Linked DNA regions of Homo sapiens: regions 1, 2, 3 and 5 are each linked to region 4. Evidence: promoter capture Hi-C in human tissues and cell types (Jung and others, 2019). All regions are on one chromosome and are shown on one strand. The core of a region is centred on a gene start or on the middle of the fragment in contact, and the rest is flanking DNA. Distances in the headings are between cores, read along the strand shown.

Region 1 (3,734 bases), core at 1,097-3,596, 260 kb after region 4:
TTAGGAGGCCTGCCCATGAGCTAGTTGGGATGCCTGACCTATAAACCCAACCAATTCCATGGGTGCCCCCATGCCCCACATGCTTCCTCCCCTACCCCTCCTGTGGCCAATTCTGATGCACATTCCTTGGGTCATGAGTACAAGCCTTTACAGGTGGTTTGTAGTCAGTTGGCTTGACTCTGGGATTGGAGGAAGGTACATAAACTGAGCATTTCAGGGCACTGCCCTAGGGAAAGCAAATGAAAGGCTCTCAGCACAAAGCCTGGCTTTGTGAGATTGAGAGAAGGTACACAATCTTAAGAATTACCTCCCAAGAGAAAGCAAAAAGAGTGGAGGGAGTGCATTCATAGAAAATATCGAGAGTGCCTCAGAATTCTAGCCAGGCTGACTGGTGAAGGAGTTCCTCTCCCCAAAGCTAGTCAGTAAAGACTGGAGGAGATGACTACTACTTCAGATGTGAAAACAGCAACACAGGACTTCACAGAACACACACACGCAGAAACCCGACACCAGCAAAAGAACACAATAATTTCTCAGTAACCATCCCCAAAGAAGTAGAGGTCTACAAATTACCCGACAAGGAATTTAAAAATAATTGCTTTTTAAGGACACTTAGCAGGCTACAATAAAACTCAGTATAAATCTAAATAAAATAAAATCAGTGTAAATCTAAATAAAACTCGGTGTAATCAGGAAAACAATATATGAACAAAACTGAAAGCTCAACAAATAGATATACATCGTAAAATAGAACCAAACAACTTCTGAAGCTGAAGACTGCAATGAATGAAATGAAAAATGCATCAGAGAGAGTCAACAGCAGATTCGATCAAGCAGAAGAAAGGATCTGTGAACTCAAATACAAAGCATTTGAAATTATCTAGTCAGAGAAGGAAAAAGAAAGCTTATGGGATTTATGCGATACCATCAGGAGAAATAATATATGCAATATGAGAGTCTTCAAAGGAGAAAAGAAAGAAAAGGGTAGAAATCTTACTTAAATAAATAATGGCTGAAAACTTCCCATATCATGGGAAAGATATGGACATCCAGGTTATGAGGCTCAAAGGTCCTCAGGCAGGTTCAACCAAAATAAAACTTCACCAAGACACATAATCTTATTGTCAATAATCAATGACAGAGAATTTTGAAAACAGCAAGAGAAAAGAGACTCGTCACACATAAAAGAAGACTGTCAGTTAGACTATCAATAAGACTATCAGTTGACTTCTCAGCAGAAATCCCACGGGTCACGAAGGAGTGGGATGATATACTCAAAGTGCTGAAAGGAAAAAACTGTCTTTCAATGGTACTTTACTCAGCAAAGCTGTCCTTTGTAAAGGAAGGAGAGATAAAGATTATCCCAGACAAACAAAAGCTAAGAGAGTTCATCACCACTAAGACTGCCTTACAAGAAATGGTAAACGAAATTGTTCAAGCTGAAATGAAAAGACACCAATTAGTAGCATGAAAATATAGTATTTTTACTCCCTGGTAAAAATAAATATGTAGGCAAATTCAGAATACTCCAATATCCTAATGATGGTGTTTAAATTCATTTTAACTCTAGTATAAATGTTAAAAGACAAAAGTATTAAAAATAACTATAGCTACACCAATGTTAATGGAGACACAATATAAAAAAAGTAAATCATAACATCAAAAAAAATGGGGAGTAAAAGTGTAGAGTTACCAGCTTCAAATAGACTCATAACTATAAGATGTTTTGTGTAACTCCATTGTAACATCAAAACAGAAATCTATAGTAGATACACAAAAGATAAAGAATCAAACCATACCACTATTGAAAATCATGAAATTACAAAGGAACATACCAAGAGAGGTATAAAGAAACAAAACAACTGCAAAACAATCAGAAAACAACAAAATGGCAATAGTAAGTCCACAATGGAATGTTATTCAGCCTTAGAAAAAAGGACATACTGCCATTTGTGACAACATGGATGAACCTGGAGGACATTATGTTAAGCGAAATAAACCAGACACAAACAGACAAATACTGCATAATATAACTTATATGTCAAATCTAAGAAAGTTGAACTCATAGAAACAGAGAGTAGAATTGTACTAACAGGGATTGAGTGTGAGGACAATGGGGAGATGTTGGTCAAAGGATACAAACTTTCATTTATAAGATGAATAAATTTTGGAGACCTAGTGTACAGTGTGGTGACTATAGCTCATAATATACCCTTGAAATTTGCTAACAGGGTAGATTTTAAATGTTCTCAACACACACACACACACACACACACATGCACACGCACAGAGGTCAGTATGTGAAGTGATAGATATGTTGATTGTGGTAATAGTTTTATAATGTATGTGTGTGTGTGTGTGTGTGTGTGTGTGTATATATATATATATATATATAATCACAGTATATATCTTTAATAGATATACTTTTTATTTGTCAATCACTCCTAAGCTTGAAAACTCACCATTTTCAAAGCAGTCACTCCTTTCATGTCCACATTTCATCAGGGAATGATTTTGTCCCATTATTAATATAAGTACCATTTCCCATATATTGTTTGATTTAAAGATTTCTGTTTCTCCCATGTTTTCATTGTGCAGTCTGAACTACTATTGGCACAACTATATTTACATAAACAGTTCTAAACCTAGGGATCAATTATTGTTATTTTTGTTTAGAAAATATTTTTATGAATATCAATGGCTTTTTCTTTTGAGATTCTACTGTATTCATATAGTGTACTTTACTACCTGTACCTTATTTATATTTTACCAGCTAGGGAGCTGAGGGGAACTCAAAATATCCAAGACTTTGGGCCTAAATTTCTAAAAATGGTCATTAAAATAGGAAGTATTAAAGGAGTGTGGGTTGTGGACTTTCGTACTGATTAGCATGAACATTTGAAAAGCGTAAAAGTAGTGCTACAAAATATTTCAGGTTTACATATCTTTATTATATGTTCAGTCAAAGCTGTCAAAATCGGTTCTTACAGTTTTAATTATAATTGCAAAATAAAAATTTTATAAATTTCGGTGTAATCTTTTATAATCTTTAGCAGATATAAGTTCATTTAATTTATTTAGAAGTGTTGCATAAAACTCCTTTGCTATATTTTCTAATATGTAGGTATCATTGAGAGGCTCTGCTGTGAAAAAATATATATTGTAGAAATGTTAGGAATTTGTGGTAAATTAGTCTTCATTGATTTTTCAGGTTTTAGAATTTCTATTGAGTCATAATATTCTAGTCTGACATTTTTTCTTTTTTTGAGAAACAGTGAGATGATGGCAAAGTGAATATGTCCCATTTTTTATTGCTTTTCATCAAATGTTACTTTCTCATAAACTGCAGAGTGAACCTTTCTCCACCAAGTAATTATGCTGATATGTTGTACATTCTTAATACTCCTTAAAAGTGAGGGAAAATAAACATATCAAATGTCAAATAGTATAAAAAAATTTCTCTACTAATCTGAGAATAAGAATTATATGTTTGGATTCCCTTGATCATATATCTCTTTATGAGGATGGTACCAACAACCCAATAGGAATTTACCATAAAAAAAAACACAAACACTGATATAATACAACTAATATAAGACATTTTATTATAATTTATACTAAAACCATAATAAAAAGGTTGTTTATACTTAATGGGACAATCCAGGGAGGGGAGGAATACAAGGCTGAACACCAGTTGATATGAGAAGGCTCTGAGATTTTGGTTGTTAAAAGTC
Region 2 (3,944 bases), core at 417-2,916, 450 kb after region 4:
AGTTTGATCATTTGGTTAGGTTAGAATCTACCAGGTCTCTCCACCATAAGTTTACCTTTCCCCTTTATAATAAATACATGGGGTGATGTTTGAGACTATCTAAATATGCTGATCCCCAATAACTTTTGCCCAATAGCATTAGAAACATTGATAATCCATGTCTGAATCAATGATTACACTGATATTTGAAAGTGGAGATTTTCCTAATTCTATCATTCTATTTACTATCTGGCATTCTTTTATAAAGAAAAAAAGAGCTTTCTCTATATTTTGTTCCATCTCTCTTTTTTCTCCTTATCACTGTGAACTTATGGATTAGTTTTTATTCAATGTACATATCCAATATTTTCATTTGCCCCCTCCATTTGTTTAAAATTGGTCATTAGAATCCCCTTCAAGTTATCTCATGAGTTATGTAGACATATGCTTACTGGTCTTTGAGCATTTTGAGGTAATAATCTTAGTGCTAACATAGTCTAGTTCTTCTCTGTGGATCCCATAGAGTATAGACAACACTTAGGTTTCTTATTTCAGGTCCGTTATTAATAATTGCAGAATTCATTTAACAAATATTTATTGAGTACCTACCAGCACCAGACATTGTTCTAGACACTAGGGAGAAAGGCCTAGGTAAAGATATGAACAAAAGAGAAGAAAGAATCTCTGCCCTTGTAGTTTACATTTCAGAGAATATTCTTACATTTTTGCTGATATAATTTTTCAAGTTGTTCAAAAGACCAAGGCTTCATCTCTTGCTTCTGTAGGATTTTGTTTTCTGCTTTCTAAAATGCAGACTGCTTGATATTCTTCTTAATTAAGTTGGCTGCTTGTTATTGTAGATCTGCCTGTCTTTCTGTTTTTCTGTCTCTCCCGGCTCCTAAATTCTTATATCTGGGTTCACTTTCACAGTTATGCTTTCTCTGTGTGATCAGCCATATTTTGTGCATTATGACAATGAGAGAAGTATTTTGAAACTTTGGGGCATGGAAAAAGTCATTTCCACCTCAGGGTCCAGCTGAAAATAACTTCTGTATTCTACAGCTCCATTATTTTCCTGCGTAACACCATTAAAGCCCTCCCAAAGGCAATCTTTTGGGCATTATTGTTTAATCAAATTATTCCGACAGTGTGTGGACTGCACGAGCACCTAGAACAATAGTGAGCATATAGTTGAAGCGAAGACAATGTCCAGTGAACATCAACAAACTGTTGGGCTGATTTGACTGAATCAACCAATGGTAACTGTGGCTTGCTGTTTTCTTATTATGTAGGACTTCTATTTTATGTTGAAGGTAAAAATCCTATGCAACTCTACGGGTATTGAAGACTTCATTCCTGTAGGGAAACTACTAATTGTAAGCAACAAAGACTAACAATTCCTCTTTTGTTCTCTTGAAGGATTTTAAAACAAAATCTTCTTCCACCTTTCCTCTATACCAATGGTTCCTAACTGAGGGCAATTTTGTCCCCAGAGAACAGGTGGCAATTCCTGGAGATATTTTCAACAGCATGACCAGGAGGGGCGCTATTGGCATCTACTGAATAGAGGCCAAAGATGCTACTAAACACATAAAATGCACAGAACAGCCCCTACAACAAAGAATTACGTTGTGCAAAGTGTCAACAGTGCTGAGGCTGAGTAATTCTGTTCTGTATGCATAGTCTAAGTCACCATATAATATGTAAAGGTGCTAATACCCAGAGTGCCATTGGGGGTGCTGCTCCATGATGTCAGAACATAGCCTTTGGGTAATATAAGCAACCATATCACTGGCAACTACAGCAAAATCGAACTTCAAGAGCAAATTGACAATATCTGAGTTATGGGGAGAACTGAATTTCACAAAGAATGTTCTAGAAATGGTTTGATTTTCTGCTGCTTTCTGTAAGCCTTTTAAGGTTATTCTACCTGCAACCCATGTTCTTTTTTCACTACCTCCCTCTTGGGTACAGATGGGAGGAATGTCCCAGAGATTGCAGGAAAAAAAATGCTTTTATCCTCCTCTTGCCTTTCAAAGTCTTTGCTTCCTTTACATGGCTTGGCTTCACATAATCCTTACCTGGTGGGTAATAGAGTACAGACTGTATTCCTGAAGAGCTGCCACCCCTGCTCTGTTTAGGGACCCTGCCTCAGCAGGCTGGGCTATCAGCTGCCCCCACAGCCAGCGAGCAAGTGAGGTCACACAAGCTGTGGTGGCAGAGATTACACCAGCCTTTTGCATTTGGCCTGGAATCCCATGGGGCATTCAATCCCCTCTCCTGTGGTGCCTTTGTGGGCCTTCCCCTAACAAATGCCTACTTGTTCTTCCTCAAAGCTCACAGGGTGTCAGAAGCCAAGACCGAGCCCTCGTTTGCATTCCTGGGGCCCACTGGCATGGCCTCAGGAATTCTGCAGCTGCAGCATGAATGGGGCCATTTGATGGCTTAGCTAAGGGCTTAAGTGGAGTTGGATGGCACAGAATCCTCCCATTAAACGGCACTGTCAAATTTTCAACCAGACTCAAACTAATGCTCTTTAGAAAAATCACTTGTTGTCTGAGTTCCCCCAACTTTCAACTCTTTGCTAAGGGAGGGCATCAGAGATCTGGATTCAGCTTCCACAGCAGTGGGCTTGGTACATAATGCTCAGTAAATATTGGTTAAATCAAACAGTGAAAGCCAAAGTGCCAAAATGAAGCCTTATAGATTGGTTGGTAGCACAGGAGAGGAAACAACATCTTCTTCCTCTACCCTGTTTGGTTCTCCTTCTGCAGGCCTGTAAATGAGACTGACAAAAGTCAGGTTAACTAGAAAACAAAACAAAACAAAACAGAAGTTTGTTAGTATATTCAATGCCCATGGCCATGGGGGTACTCAGTAGCGAGTGACTTAAAGGGGTAGTTAAAATTTCAGCTTCTATAGCATCTTGAGAACAATGAATTAGGAGAGAAGGGACAAGACAAGGGAAAAGGACTTAGAGCTTCTAGGCACTGGTAAATTGTGGAAAGGTAAATATATTGGGGGAACTAATGGAAAATAAGGGTTGTTTTTAGCAAGGTCTGCCTCTGGGCTGATAAAGGTCTAGAGTTGTCTTCAGTGATTAATTTCTGTCCTTTCAGGTAGAGAGGGGAGGGGGAACACCTTTACAAACTTATGTCCTGCTTTTAGGCAGAGAGCTTTTCTTGTATCTGCTTCTTCTCAATGAAGCTTCAGCTCAAAATAATCCTTATGTTAAAGTGGCATATTTTGGGGTGGCATACTCTGCTACCCTTCAGCACTGCTTTTCTTTGCCTCCACCCCTATCCTTTAGCCCTTATCTTTAGTTTAAAGAGCACTGTTCCTGGAAATGAATAATTCTCAGTAAGAGCAACAATAAATGTTTCTATACAGTCAAAATTTCAACCTTAACACCAGGCACATTGTTTCCACACCCCTAGGCTTATTTCCACATGGCCAACAAACTGTTCATTTTTAAAATGCGAATCTGAGTGTGTTCGATCATCAGGGAAAAACCTCTAGCCTCAAAACCCATCACTTTCCCTCTCTCTAACTACACTCTGAGCTCAGTGCACCCCCACCCTCCTTTCACTAAACCACTTTGTTCTGTCTTGCCACTGAGCCTTTGCACATTCTGTTGGCCTGTAACACTCTTCCTGCCTTTCTTTGTGGCGCTCTTACCCAGGATGCATTTAGCTTAGGTCAGTGGTTCTTAAAGTATACCACACATTAGAAACGTCTCAGAGAGCTTTTCATCCCCTGTACCAATTAAATCAGAATCTCTGGGAATGGAATCCAGGGATGGGGATTTGATTAAACTCCCCAGGTGATTTCAATGTGCAAGCAAGTTTGAGAACCAGTGTTTTACTGTGTATAAGTATTACCTGGTAATCTTGATGCAGATTCTGACTGAGTACATCTAGGATAAGACTTGAAATTCTGCATTTCTAATAAGCTCCTAGGTGAGG
Region 3 (3,679 bases), core at 923-3,422, 430 kb after region 4:
TAATCAATTAATAATAAATATATAATATGAAAAAATTAACAAATTTAAAAATGGGTTCTGTGGAAAGATTAATAAAATTAATATGACTTTAGCAAGACTGATCAAGAGAAAACACAAATGATTAATATGAGAAATACAAAGGGGGATATCAATACAGAACCTACAGACATTTAAAAATAAAGAATACAATGACAACTTTGTGCTGCGAAATTTCACAACATGGATAAAATATACAAATTTTTATGAAATGTTCCTTGATAAAAAGAAATAGAAAATCTGGACACTCCTGACACCAAAAAAAAGAAAATTTCAGAGTCAGATGATTTCACAAACGGAAAAGAAAATCGGCATCATTCTTACCCAAGTTCTTCTACCAAAGTCTTCTTTTTTAGCCCACTAGTCTGTTAAATGCTAAGTATACAAAGAAGAGTAAGACAAGGTCCTCATCCTCAAAACTTGAATGGGGGTGACAGACTTGCAAGCAAAGACAAATTACAATAAAATAGGCAGGGCACCACTGTAGGGGCATAAGGATTTGGTTTTGGTTGCATATAATTAATTTGTTCAGAAGAACTCTGGGCAGCTTTGTAGAGAAGGTACATTTGAGTTGAGTCTCTAATATTAGGTAGGAGAACCTGCCAGACAGAGAAAAGGAAGAGGCACTGACGTTCTAGGAAGGGAAAATAAGTGCAAAAGGCTCATCTTAAGTGAGTATGGTATATTAAGGTCAGGGTGAGCAGCCTGGTTGGTGTAGCAGGCATAGGTGCATGAGACGGGGTTAGTAAGGAAAGGTAATCTCTGAGCTGCCCTCTGTCTTATTTCCTTCACTTGTGATCTCTAGATTACTAAGTTAAGTTAATTGTGCTTTTTTCTATGCCAGTTCAAAATAACCTCGCCTGGGCTGGGTGCAGTGGCTCACACCTGTAATGCCAGAACTTTGGGAGGCCAAAGCGGGTGGATCTCTTGAGGTCAGGAGTTCGAGACCGGCATGGCCAAGATAATGAAGCCCTGTCTCTACTAAAAATACAAAAATTAGCTGGGTGTGGTGGTGCATGTATGTAGTCCCAGCTATTCAGGAGGCTGAGGCAGGAGAATTGCTTGAATCTGGGAAGCAGAGATTGCAGTGAGGCAAGGCATGGGTGCAGGGAACAACTGAGGGAAGAGTATGGGATGAGGGTGGAGAGATTCTAGGAAGTAGGGAGAGGAAAGACAGCTTTGCTACTTTCCCAGATATGTGAGCCTGCTGCCCAGTGATGACAAATGTACTCTCATATTGATCCAGAGTCCTAGCTATCCCAACTCCTATGTGTCCCAGTTTCTGCAACCTGGCTTCTGGTTTTGTTCTTCCTACTGACTCTCCTTTCATGCCAAGTCTCCTGAGTACTAGGGTACAATCTACCAGTGTCAGGGATAAAACTGACCTGTTATCAGATGGAGTATTAAGATGACAACATCCAGGCTCCCATATTGGAACAAAGCCATCTGCACTTCATCCTGAAGGCACTGCAGGACAATCAGACATGCTGGGGAGACCTGAATAATAACTGTTAGAACACAAAACAAGGTAGCATATAATTATGATATTATATTGTTGGTATAAACGTCCAAGTAGGTGGAGCAAAATCACAGAGGAAAACAATAAAATTTTCTGAAGTAGGGGAAGACATTAAATGGGTATTGTTTTTTATTATGGCCATCTAGGAAAGAACAGAGCAGAAAAAATTTTGAACTATAAAGAAATGTAGTAACACAGTTAGAAAAACCTTGGGAAAATACTCAGAGGGGAAAATATTGACTGTTCATGTTACTCAAGCTATATTGATAGGAAACCAAACCAACCAACCAATGCGGTTAGACAACCAGATGATACAATGGTAGAAGAATGCTTCAAGCTTGTTGCTTAATCACAATTTTGTTTTTTGACAAAGTTTGACAAAGTGGGAAAGAATCTCTTGTCTTCAGAAAATTGGGGAAGGTTCAATAGTCATTCACAGGGATTAGTTTCAAACAAATAATTTGAAAGTCCCAAAAGTAAGACTAGAAGTAGGGCCAAAGATCTTGAGTGCTCTCTGTGATTTTTCTCTTGATTAATTGGCCTCTGCCAGACTTTTGTTGCATTTTTGTCTAGAGTTATTTTGGATGACATTCCTCTTGTCACATGTTGAGACTTGCTAGGGGGCTGCTGCTGGGTTCTTACAAGTACCTCCTCAAATGCCTTCTATTTGACATCATTTTATCCTCCTCCCTGAGATGAAAACAAGCCAACTGAAAATGTAAAGAGTGTTGGGTTGGGTATAATTGATATTATACTTTCTTTGACTAGTTGGCAGTAGATTTTGGAACAAAGTAGTGTATTTACTGCCTGTAAACATTTTGTTGACCTGAGAAAAATACGTTCATGAAATCTATTTGCATTTTCTGATAGAGAAACACTGTGGTAAAGGGTTTTGTTGGGTCATTTTGAAAATTTTGGCTCTCATTCACTGGTCAAACATTTATTGAAAGCCTACTACATTTCAGGTATTATATGCTTTGGAGGAATGTTTAGGGGAGTGTTTTTCAAACTGAACACCAAGATATTAATAGATGTTCCTTTGACAAAATTGTTTCTGGCCAAGTGAGTTTGCAACATAAACTCTTTCTTTGAATCTTAGCACATGTTAGGATGATAAAGTTCCTAAGTCTTGCAGCAAAGAAGCCTGATTAATTTTGTTTTGCTTAATCCAGTGTTTCCTTTTCTTAATTTTTTTCTGACCATGGAACCCCTTATTCTAGAACATTCATTATATCTCTTGAGATAGCAGGGTGTTCAGCTCTCTCTGCCCTCCCTGTATCTTTTGAGGAGTGGAAATGAAAGAACCTTCACATCATATCATGTATTAGACAAGTGCTGAACAGAATGTGCATGTTGTAAGGAATCTGGTAATATAGCGTGTCAATGGCAGAAAAAGACCCATGTAAACATTTTGCCAAAGTACTTTTCTCTCTCCTTTACTCCCTCTTTGTTCCTAGTCCTGATCTCTGTTACCTTTCTTGAGCCTCAGGCACAGAGAAGCAGTAGTTCCTTTTCCTTGAACTCTCTTTTTGTAAGCCATACTCTTCCTTCTGTTTCTGCCAGTTTTTTCTTTTTCTTTTTTTGTTGCTGCTCATACAACCTGTGTTAAGAAGAGGTTTGGCTTTACATTCTCATTCAGTATGTACGATCAAGCATCATCAAGTCAAAAGCTGACTAACACATGTGAAGGAGATAAGTCTGGAGATAGATTCTCAATGTGGTTGGTGGATGCACAGCCAGGAATCCGTTGTAAATCCTAAGTGTCCTGAGTGTAGGCAGATAGCCAGAGAATTTCCCCAAGTACAGGGTCAAGTCAGTCATTTGTAAGAGTCAATAGGATTAGTAAATCCTAGGCAGTGTGGGTCAAATAGTCTGCTGAATATACCCTGGGAGTCTGAAACATTGAATGGAGAAGAGAGTCTGCATTGAAAAGACGAGCACTGGTAGCCATCAGAATTGGGACAGAATGAAGAAATTCCTCTGGGAAACAAAGTAGCTAAGTTTAATTCTTCTCCAACTTTGAATTTCAAAATAAACAGTAGGAAAACATCTGGTCATAAGAATGTTCTGTGTTTTCAGATGCCTCCAGATGTAGAGGGTGGTGGTATCTTGTCTCCTAATGGA
Region 4 (3,956 bases), core at 727-3,226:
TGTAGTATCTACCTTCAGGGATGTTACTATGATCAGATGATCATTTGCAGGGATGGCTCTTCCTTCCCTTGCCTAGTTAACTTCTCTTCCAACGTCTGTTCTGAGTTAGAGTCACTGTTTCGAGAAGCCTTCACTGACCTCTCTGACTGAATCCAATTACTCTATCATAGGTTTTCTCATATCTTGAGTCTCTTGTTTGTAATGCTTACTGCGGGCATGATTTTATATTTGTGATTTATTTTTTGGTCAGTATTCCTTCTCATTAGAATTTCAGCTCCAGGAGGGAGTACAGGGATGTGTCTGTCTTTGCTTACTATTCCTTGGGCTTAACAGTGCCAAGTACATAGTAGGGTCCCAATAAATATTTGTTGATAGAAAAACACAGTAAATGTCCCTGATGGAAAACAGTGGGAATGCTCCTACATAAACCCTTTGGGTGCTGAAACTAGTGCCTTGGATAGAAATTAACAGTAATTAACAAGTTTATAAAAGGAACACATGGTGGTGAATCAGAGCAGTTAAGTGTGCAGATGCTCTCAGTTCTTCAGGAGGTGACTCTGGGCAGGAGGGGTCTCCGCTCAAAAAGGTAAGACTTTATATAAAGACCCACAGACCTGGGTCTGATTAATTGGCTGTATTATCTGCTGCTGGACAACCTTAGTCAAGTTACTTTATTTCCCACGGTCTCAGTTTCCTCATCTGTACCCATCACAGGGTCAATTCCTGTTAACTAGGCAGCTGAACCTGAAATAATTTTGATTTACCTTCAGCATATTCCATGATTATCCAGAGGCCTGTGCCAGTGATATGGCTCTTCCTACATGTGAGCCAGGCAGCCTCCTTCTGTGGCGCAGTGACAAACTGCTATCCCCATCATTCCTCCCCGCAAGTCTTTGTACTTTGGGTCATAAAATAATAGGCTATGAATCTGTGTGAACTGGGAAAACAGAGTTCCAAGGGCACACCCAGTACGAGCGAGTCTCCTCTTCCCCCGCGCTTCATATCCAAGCTTGACAGAGGCCGTGGGTGGGCTGGCCCTCGGCAGTGAGGCTCAGAGGTTACTGGCCGTCATCTGTCAGAGACTGACCTTGAAAACAGAGAAAAGCCCTCAGTCCCTGACAAGACAGCCCTGCCCACGTGCCAGCTGGATCCAGCTCGCCAACACAGCGATCTCCGAGCCCCTTTTCTACTTAAAAAAAAAAAAAAGTCTGCTGAGTCCATTCCTTGAGAATCACAGAGAAAACAATTCCTTCCTTACTCCATTCAAGAAAAAAAAAAATTCCCTTTCTCAGAATAAAAAGAGTAAGCCTCTTGTCCACCTCTCGTGCAGCGGGCCACTTTGCTGGGAGGAGACGAGGTGTCTGGGTTTGAGCCCTTCCTGGAGGTATGAACTACATGCGAGCCACGTCCATGGCGATGCCTGCGAAAGACGGGCATGATTTCTTCTCCAAGCCTTCTTTTTCCTCTTCCTCACGTTCGAGCTTGTGGAACCAACTGGGGCTGTGAGTTTCAGGGTGTAGGGTATGTATGTAAACAGCGGAATTGTGTATGCGCTTAGTGTGCGTTCAGGACTCTGCTGTGCTTGAACTTGGCGTGTTTGTGTTTGTGTGTTTGGAGGATTATGAGAGCATGTAGGGGGAAGAGATTTGTATGTGTAAGTGCAGAAAAGTAGTAGTGTGTGTGATGTGTGTGTGTAGACAGGAATTACGTGGATACTCCATGTGCGTTCAGGAGTGTGTGTGTTTGAGGAGCTATGAAAGTGCATGTATGGAAAGGATTTATACGTGTAAGTGCAGAAAGTGGCAGTGTGTACGTGGTGTGTGTGTGCGCGCGCGAGTGTGTGAGCGCCAGGGGCCGCCCGCCCGCCGCGGCTCCCCGTGGGCTGGCCGGGCCAATGAGCGCGCGGCTGTAGGGGCGGCGGGCGGGGAGGGGGCGCCGAGCCCTGCGGATGGAGGCGCGGGCAGCGCGGCGCGCTCATTCCGCGCGGGCGTTGCTGGCGGGGGGCGGCGCAGCCACTGGACCCGGACCGGGGCCGCGACCCGGGGTGGCGGGTGGCGTGGGCGGCGCCCGGGGCTGGGATGCGCCGGGGGCTCAGTGGCGGCGGCGGCGTTGGCGGTGGCGTCGGCGGCTGCAGGGGGACGAGCTAGCGCCGCGGCGCTGGGAGCCAGTTGAGCCCGGCCGGCGAGCGGAGGCGGCAGCGCAGGCAGAGCGGCGGCGGCAGCGGGAGCCCGAGCGCTGCGCGCCCACCATGGCCGCCCAGGGAGAGCCCGGCTACCTGGCGGCGCAGTCGGACCCCGGCTCCAACAGCGAGCGCAGCACCGACTCCCCAGTGCCCGGCTCCGAGGACGACTTGGTCGCCGGGGCGACCCTGCACAGCCCGGAGTGGAGCGAGGAGCGCTTCCGCGTGGACAGGAAGAAACTTGAGGCCATGTTACAAGGTAGGCATCCCTCGTGTTCTCGGACTCTCCGACTGAGCCTCTAACTCCTTTTCGGACATCCCCACCGCGCGCTCCGGCGCCCGCTACTCCAGCCTACGGCCGGCCGGTTTAGCTCCAGGCCCGCTCCCCCGCGGAGCCGGAGGACACCCAGGGACTGGAGACTTCGCGGGACTCCCCACCCTTCCACGCCTCTCAGATTTCCAGGCGCTGGGGGCCCTGTGCGAACTTGACTGGCTTCAGAAAAGCCGAAGGCCGAGTTTGTACTGGCGCGCCCAAGTTGCGTTCTGGACTTTGGAGATGCCAACTTTAGCCCGGACACCTGGGCTGTGCCATCCGGACCACTCGGGCCGCACAGAGTATGCGTGACCCTCCCCATTCCCTGGCAGCCTCGAGTTCTGTCTCTCTCCGTCTGTTTCACTCTCTCCCCTTGTCAGTATCCACTTCCTCCAGCTGAGGGGCCTTGTCTCACTATTGGGAAACGCTCTGCAGATGTCAAGGCTTAAGACAGGAGCTCCCGCCCCCACCCCTGTGGTCAAGGAGGGCCAGGATCGGGGTGAGCAGCCAAAGCGAGGGGGGAGTGTGGAGGCAGTGCTGCTGTGTTTGAGGACAGTGTTCATCTCTTGACAGGCTTATAAAACACATCTTGAGTTACATTCAGTCCATAAAAATCTTCCTATGCTATGGGTGTCTGACTTTGTCTTTCACAACTTAGAATTATTTTTAACTCTTTAATTTCTTTGGGACTTTCCCAGGTAGAAAATCTTCAACCATACTGGACCGAAAACAGATTCTGATTTATAATACGAGTGTTGGAGTGAACGTCAAAACGTCCAAGGTCATTTTGACCTTTCTTAAAACAGATAATTACTAGCCTACCTGTAGCCACCGATGTGGCTCATTTCCCACATCCAAAGAGAGAAATGAGTTAGTTTGAATGACTGTTATTCTTAAAATACGTGTACGGGACCAGGCGTTAGTCTCACTTAGGGCGCTGGTGAAGATTCATTCAGTAGCTAGTGTTCTTTTATCATGGAGGAGTTTGGAGTTTTTCAAACGTTATTTGTGGCTTTATGCATAACTTACTTTGACTTTATCAGTCAATGCATCGCAGTATGGGAATGATTTAGCCCTCTGTGGAAATGCAGTGGCTTTTTAGAACAATTAAGCAGGTTATTTTAAGAGAGAACAACATGTTTTCCAAAACAATAACTTGGTGGAAACAAATAGCAAGAGTGTTTGGCAGACGTTTTTTGGATGTGCTACAGGCTTTCCTCCCTTGTTGCTTATTTTTATTGACAAACATCCCTAATGTGTGTCATGTCTTTCTCTGTCTCTCCCCTTCCCTCTCTTTTTTTCTCAAATTATGTAACTTTTGAGGACAGTTACTTCTGTGATAAACTCTTCAAGTAAGACCGTTATAAGATAGATTTGGAAATTAAAGCCCCAGTTGCATTTCAGTAACTCATTTCAGTTATTTCGTCTGTTCTGTGGTTCTTTTTGCCTAGTTTATGATTATAA
Region 5 (4,241 bases), core at 1,467-3,966, 280 kb after region 4:
TCCATTGCCTGGTAGAGACCTGGAAGTAAATACCTTTGTGGCACACCAGATCACCTTCTGAGGAGCAGTGCATTAGTGCCTGACTTCTTACATTGCCTTAATTATGTCTCTCTCTAGTTTATACACATTTGTGCTTGTTCTTCTGTTTGGCAGCAAATGGAACTCACCTGTCCTCATGCAAGCGGTTTCAGTACTTGAAGAACAGATAGTATTATTTGTGATATTTGGAAGTATTCTCTCTTCTAAACTAGTTACAATACTAGAAACTGTCAGCCACAAAGATGAATAGTCTTTTCTCTACAGGGACTAATGGTGACAGTGGGATGTGCACATAAGGGACTAGACAGAAAGCTATAGTAAAAAGCAAAGACAATATTCAGAATATTTAAAAACTGGTACGGCATGACCATTGGCCCTAAGAACAGTGTCCTGGAGCCCCTGTACCCCCCACCACAATGCCAAGACTAACACCTTGAGTCAGTGGGTCATGGGAATGCCCAGGAGATTTCAGAAGTAAGCTCGAGGTAGATGTTGGAGCAATGATTGTGTACCATCTGGTATGGAAAATGTTCACTATTTTCAGAACCTAGTGTAGCTCTGTCATTGAATATTGATAAGTATCTGGTATGCAAAGAGCTTAAACAAAACGGAGAAAATGCAGTGAACAAGAGTAATTATAAAGAGGGCAGGATGATCTCCTGGGGGCTGTGGGGCTTTCAGTAAGTCCAGTGGGTGAAACAGATCAGTTGACACAAATTACCTGAGGATCTCGTTAAAATGCAAATTCTGATTAAGCAGGTCTGGATGGGGGCCTGAGATCCTTTATTTTTAACAAGCTTCTGGATAATACCTCTGTATTTGTCCCTGGATGACACTTTTAGTAGCAAGCATATAGATGAACTGGAAAAGAGATGTGAGTTTGATTAAAATAAATCTAACTTTGTATTTTCCTCCTCTTATAGGTATCTATAGCGGGACAACCAGCAGGAGTAGAATCTGCCCGAGTTAGAATTCGGGTAACTATTTATTACTTTAACATTGTAAATTGATGTCAGCAACATTTGCATTATAAGGCACTAAAAATATAATAATTTATCATTTTATAACCGAATCATGTTCAATCAGTAGGAAATAGTGGCAAAAGTTATTTTAGTGTCTATCTTAGCATTCATTATCTAAATATTTATTGTATATGTTCAAAAAGTGAGTTTCTATGTTATTTATAAAATTTTTTCACTGAAAATGTTTCTCAGAGATGTTCTGGATTTTATCTGACTCAGTTTTTCTAGTTTTTATTCAATGATCATAAAGAGGCCTAAGGAAAAATGCCACAGGCAATGTGAGTTAGAAACTCTCAGGTTTCACAAAAGGCTCCCATCATTTAAAAACACTTGTAGGCCAGTTGTGGTGGCTCACACCTGTAATCCCAGCACTTTGGGAGGCCAAGGCAGGAGGATCACTTGAGGCCTGGAGTTCGTGACCAGCCTGGACAACATAGCAAGACCCTGTCTGTCTCTACAAAACATTTTTAAAAATTAGCCAGGTATGGTGGCACATGCCTGTAGTGCCACTAATTCAGGAAGCCAAGGTGAGAGGATCCTTGAGCCCAGGAGGTGGAGGCTGTAGTGAGCTGGGATGATACCACTGCATGCCAGCCTGGGTGACGGAGCAAGACTCTGACTCAAAAAACAGAAAGGAAAAAAAAAAACTTTATATAATGTAGCTAAACTTAATATCTATAAGGGCAGTTTATGCTTTAAAATCTATCTTCAGAAAAGAACCAATGAATGATACACATGTCTGAATGTCTAATGCTTTAACTCTCTGCTTTGGATTCTCATCATTTCATTTTAGGAGCTGCTTCCTTTGGTGCTGATGTTTGAGCTACCAATTGCTGGAATTCTTCAACCGGTTCCTGATCCTAATTCCCCCTCTATTCAGCATATATCACAAACGTACAATATTTCAGTATCATTTAAACAGCGTTCCCGAATGTATGGTGCTACTGTCATAGTACGAGGGTCTCAGAATAACACTAGTGCTGTGAAGGTAAATTATTCAGATAATTCTGCACATCCTATATGTACAAGTTACATGAGTTTCATTTTTAAAGAATATTAGACTAATTTGATTTCCAGAATTTTCCTTCGTTCTACATTTTGGTTTGCAGAATATGCTGTATTTTTCCATAGCTGTTAGAAATGCAATAGAATCTTTCCCCGTATATGAACAGTTAATGTATAGGATTATTTCTTTCCCACCCTTTTCTCTTAGGAAGGAACTGCCATGCTGTTAGAACATCTTGCTGGGAGCTTAGCATCAGCTATTCCTGTGAGCACACAACTAGATATTGCAGCTCAACATCATCTCTTTATGATGGGTCGAAATGGGAGCAACATCAAACATATCATGCAGAGAACAGGTGCTCAGATCCACTTTCCTGATCCCAGTAATCCACAAAAGAAATCTACCGTCTACCTCCAGGGCACCATTGAGTCTGTCTGTCTTGCAAGGCAATATCTCATGGTAAGGTTACTGAAATAAGTGTTACAATTTTTTTAAACCTCTTTGGATTCAGTGCATGTTTTTCCATCCACTGTACTAATGTGATATTTAGGAAAGCACTTCGGAAGCCTCGTCAAATAAGGAAGTTTCTTGCTAAAAGGAAATAAACTGGAAGAGTAATAAGGTTCATAGTGCCTCAACAGGTTTAATTTCATTGCATATGTAATTTTATTTCAGTGTTTTCTTTTTAACTTAGACTAAACACAGAAGAGAATTATAGTGAAATAATTGACTGCATTTTGTGGCAAGGATGGAAGGTGACTGTTTTCATCTGACCTGTAATATTAGTGTGCAGTTTGTATTTGGCAAAAAAAAAAAAAGTCCTCTGTTTAAACAGAAAAGTAAAAATACTATTTAAATTTCACCATCAAAGACAAATTTTGTCAGCCCAAAACATTTGTACATTTCATAAATCTTTGATCCAATTAAAAAATACTATTTAAGTCACAAATTCGAGCGTCACTTATTGAAGGAAGAAAAGCAAAGTTATATATTATAATTCAATACTACTTTACTACTTCTAATTTATAATTGCAATATTTCTATCCTTCCCATATTTGTTTAAAACCCCTCGGCCAGGTGCGGTACCTCATGCCTGTAATCCCAGCACTTTGGGAGGCCAAGGTGGGCAGATCACTTGAGGTCAAAATCAAGACCAGCCTGGCCAACATAGTGAAACCCCATTTCTACTAAAAATATAAAAATTAGCCAATGCGGTGGCAGGTGCCTGTAATCCCAGTTACTCAGGAGGCTGAGGGAGGAGAATTGCTTGAACCCAGAAAGCAGAGGTTGCAGTAAGCCCAGATGGCACCACTGCACTGCATTTCAAAAATGAAATAAATGAAATGGAATGAAATAAACTATCCCAGTGTATGGGTTGATAATGTAGTAACAAAATGGATGGACATGATGCTGGGCTTACAAATATTTGTATTAAAAACACCATTGTATTCTCTCATTCAGTGCTTGACCTTTAGTGGCATTTGAATCAGTAAGCCTCAGGTGTGACATTTACTATTATTAACTTGCAGAGTTTATTTTTGAGAAACTTTCAGAAAATCTAAGTTTTTATTGTTGATTCCATTCCTCTGACAGACAAGAACTTGTTGGAATCAGTAAGATTGTAATCCACGATTTTAAGAAATTTGTCATGATTTTTTTTAGCCGAGCTTATTTTATCAGGTTATTTTTAATATACTGTACTACAAGTCAGATTTATATTTATATCCAAGAATTGTTGTAATCTTCATTTTTTTTCTGCTTTACAAGTTCTTTAGATGTTATTTTTTAGTTTAGTGAAATTTTTCAAATATTCTCTACAGTTATTAATGCACATTTATACTTTGACCATACCTGCCAAAAATAATGACTCATATTATTGCACAACATTGAAATAACTGAAGGAGAAATTAAAAGGCTTTAACCCGTATTTTAAATACCATCACCATTTTGTATAGCACTATTCTTATAAAAATCACTTCCTGGCTGGGCGCGGTGGCTTACACCTGTAATCCCAACACTTTGGGAGGCCGAGGCAGGCGTATCACAAGGTCAGGAGTTCAAGACCAGCCTGGCCAATATGGTGAAACCCCATCTCTACTAAAAATACACAGAAAAGTTAGCCGGGCATAGTGGTGAAGGTCTGTAATCCCAGCTACTCAAGAGGCTGAGACAGG

What was found. Contacts are between HindIII fragments. The study calls those that stand out against the background at their distance.
Region 1: a contact is called between a fragment that was not itself captured here and the fragment with the promoter of BICC1 in region 4, in 2 of the 25 tissues and cell types used here (mesendoderm cells and thymus).
Region 2: a fragment that was not itself captured here is called in contact with the fragment with the promoter of BICC1 in region 4 in 1 of the 25 tissues and cell types used here (H1 embryonic stem cells).
Region 3: a fragment that was not itself captured here is called in contact with the fragment with the promoter of BICC1 in region 4 in 1 of the 25 tissues and cell types used here (dorsolateral prefrontal cortex).
Region 5: a contact is called between a fragment that was not itself captured here and the fragment with the promoter of BICC1 in region 4, in 1 of the 25 tissues and cell types used here (dorsolateral prefrontal cortex).

What each region holds. Positions count from the first base shown.
Region 1 is chr10:58,767,032-58,770,765 of GRCh38, forward strand. All of the region lies in intron 3 of BICC1 (BicC family RNA binding protein 1), which reads left to right. Among named protein-coding and RNA genes, the nearest start is that of LINC00844, 230 kb to the right of the region's middle. The HindIII fragment of the contact is 6,609 bases long and covers 1-3,734 here.
Region 2 is chr10:58,961,663-58,965,606 of GRCh38, forward strand. No RefSeq gene overlaps it. Among named protein-coding and RNA genes, the nearest start is that of LINC00844, 36 kb to the right of the region's middle. RefSeq lists enhancers at 1,813-2,314, 2,315-2,814. The HindIII fragment of the contact is 6,472 bases long and covers 1-3,944 here.
Region 3 is chr10:58,941,551-58,945,229 of GRCh38, forward strand. No RefSeq gene overlaps it. Among named protein-coding and RNA genes, the nearest start is that of LINC00844, 56 kb to the right of the region's middle. The HindIII fragment of the contact is 3,652 bases long and covers 347-3,679 here.
Region 4 is chr10:58,510,896-58,514,851 of GRCh38, forward strand. BICC1 (BicC family RNA binding protein 1) reads left to right here and starts at 1,977. Exons shown (of 21, transcript NM_001080512.3): 1 at 1,977-2,438. The coding sequence starts at 2,249. LOC124902427 (a long non-coding RNA gene) reads right to left here and starts at 1,157. Exons shown (of 2, transcript XR_007062147.1): 1 at 765-1,157. The HindIII fragment of the contact is 7,114 bases long and covers 1-3,956 here.
Region 5 is chr10:58,787,408-58,791,648 of GRCh38, forward strand. It overlaps BICC1 (BicC family RNA binding protein 1), which reads left to right. Exons shown (of 21, transcript NM_001080512.3): 6 at 963-1,016; 7 at 1,855-2,049; 8 at 2,275-2,526. Among named protein-coding and RNA genes, the nearest start is that of LINC00844, 210 kb to the right of the region's middle. The HindIII fragment of the contact is 4,619 bases long and covers 408-4,241 here.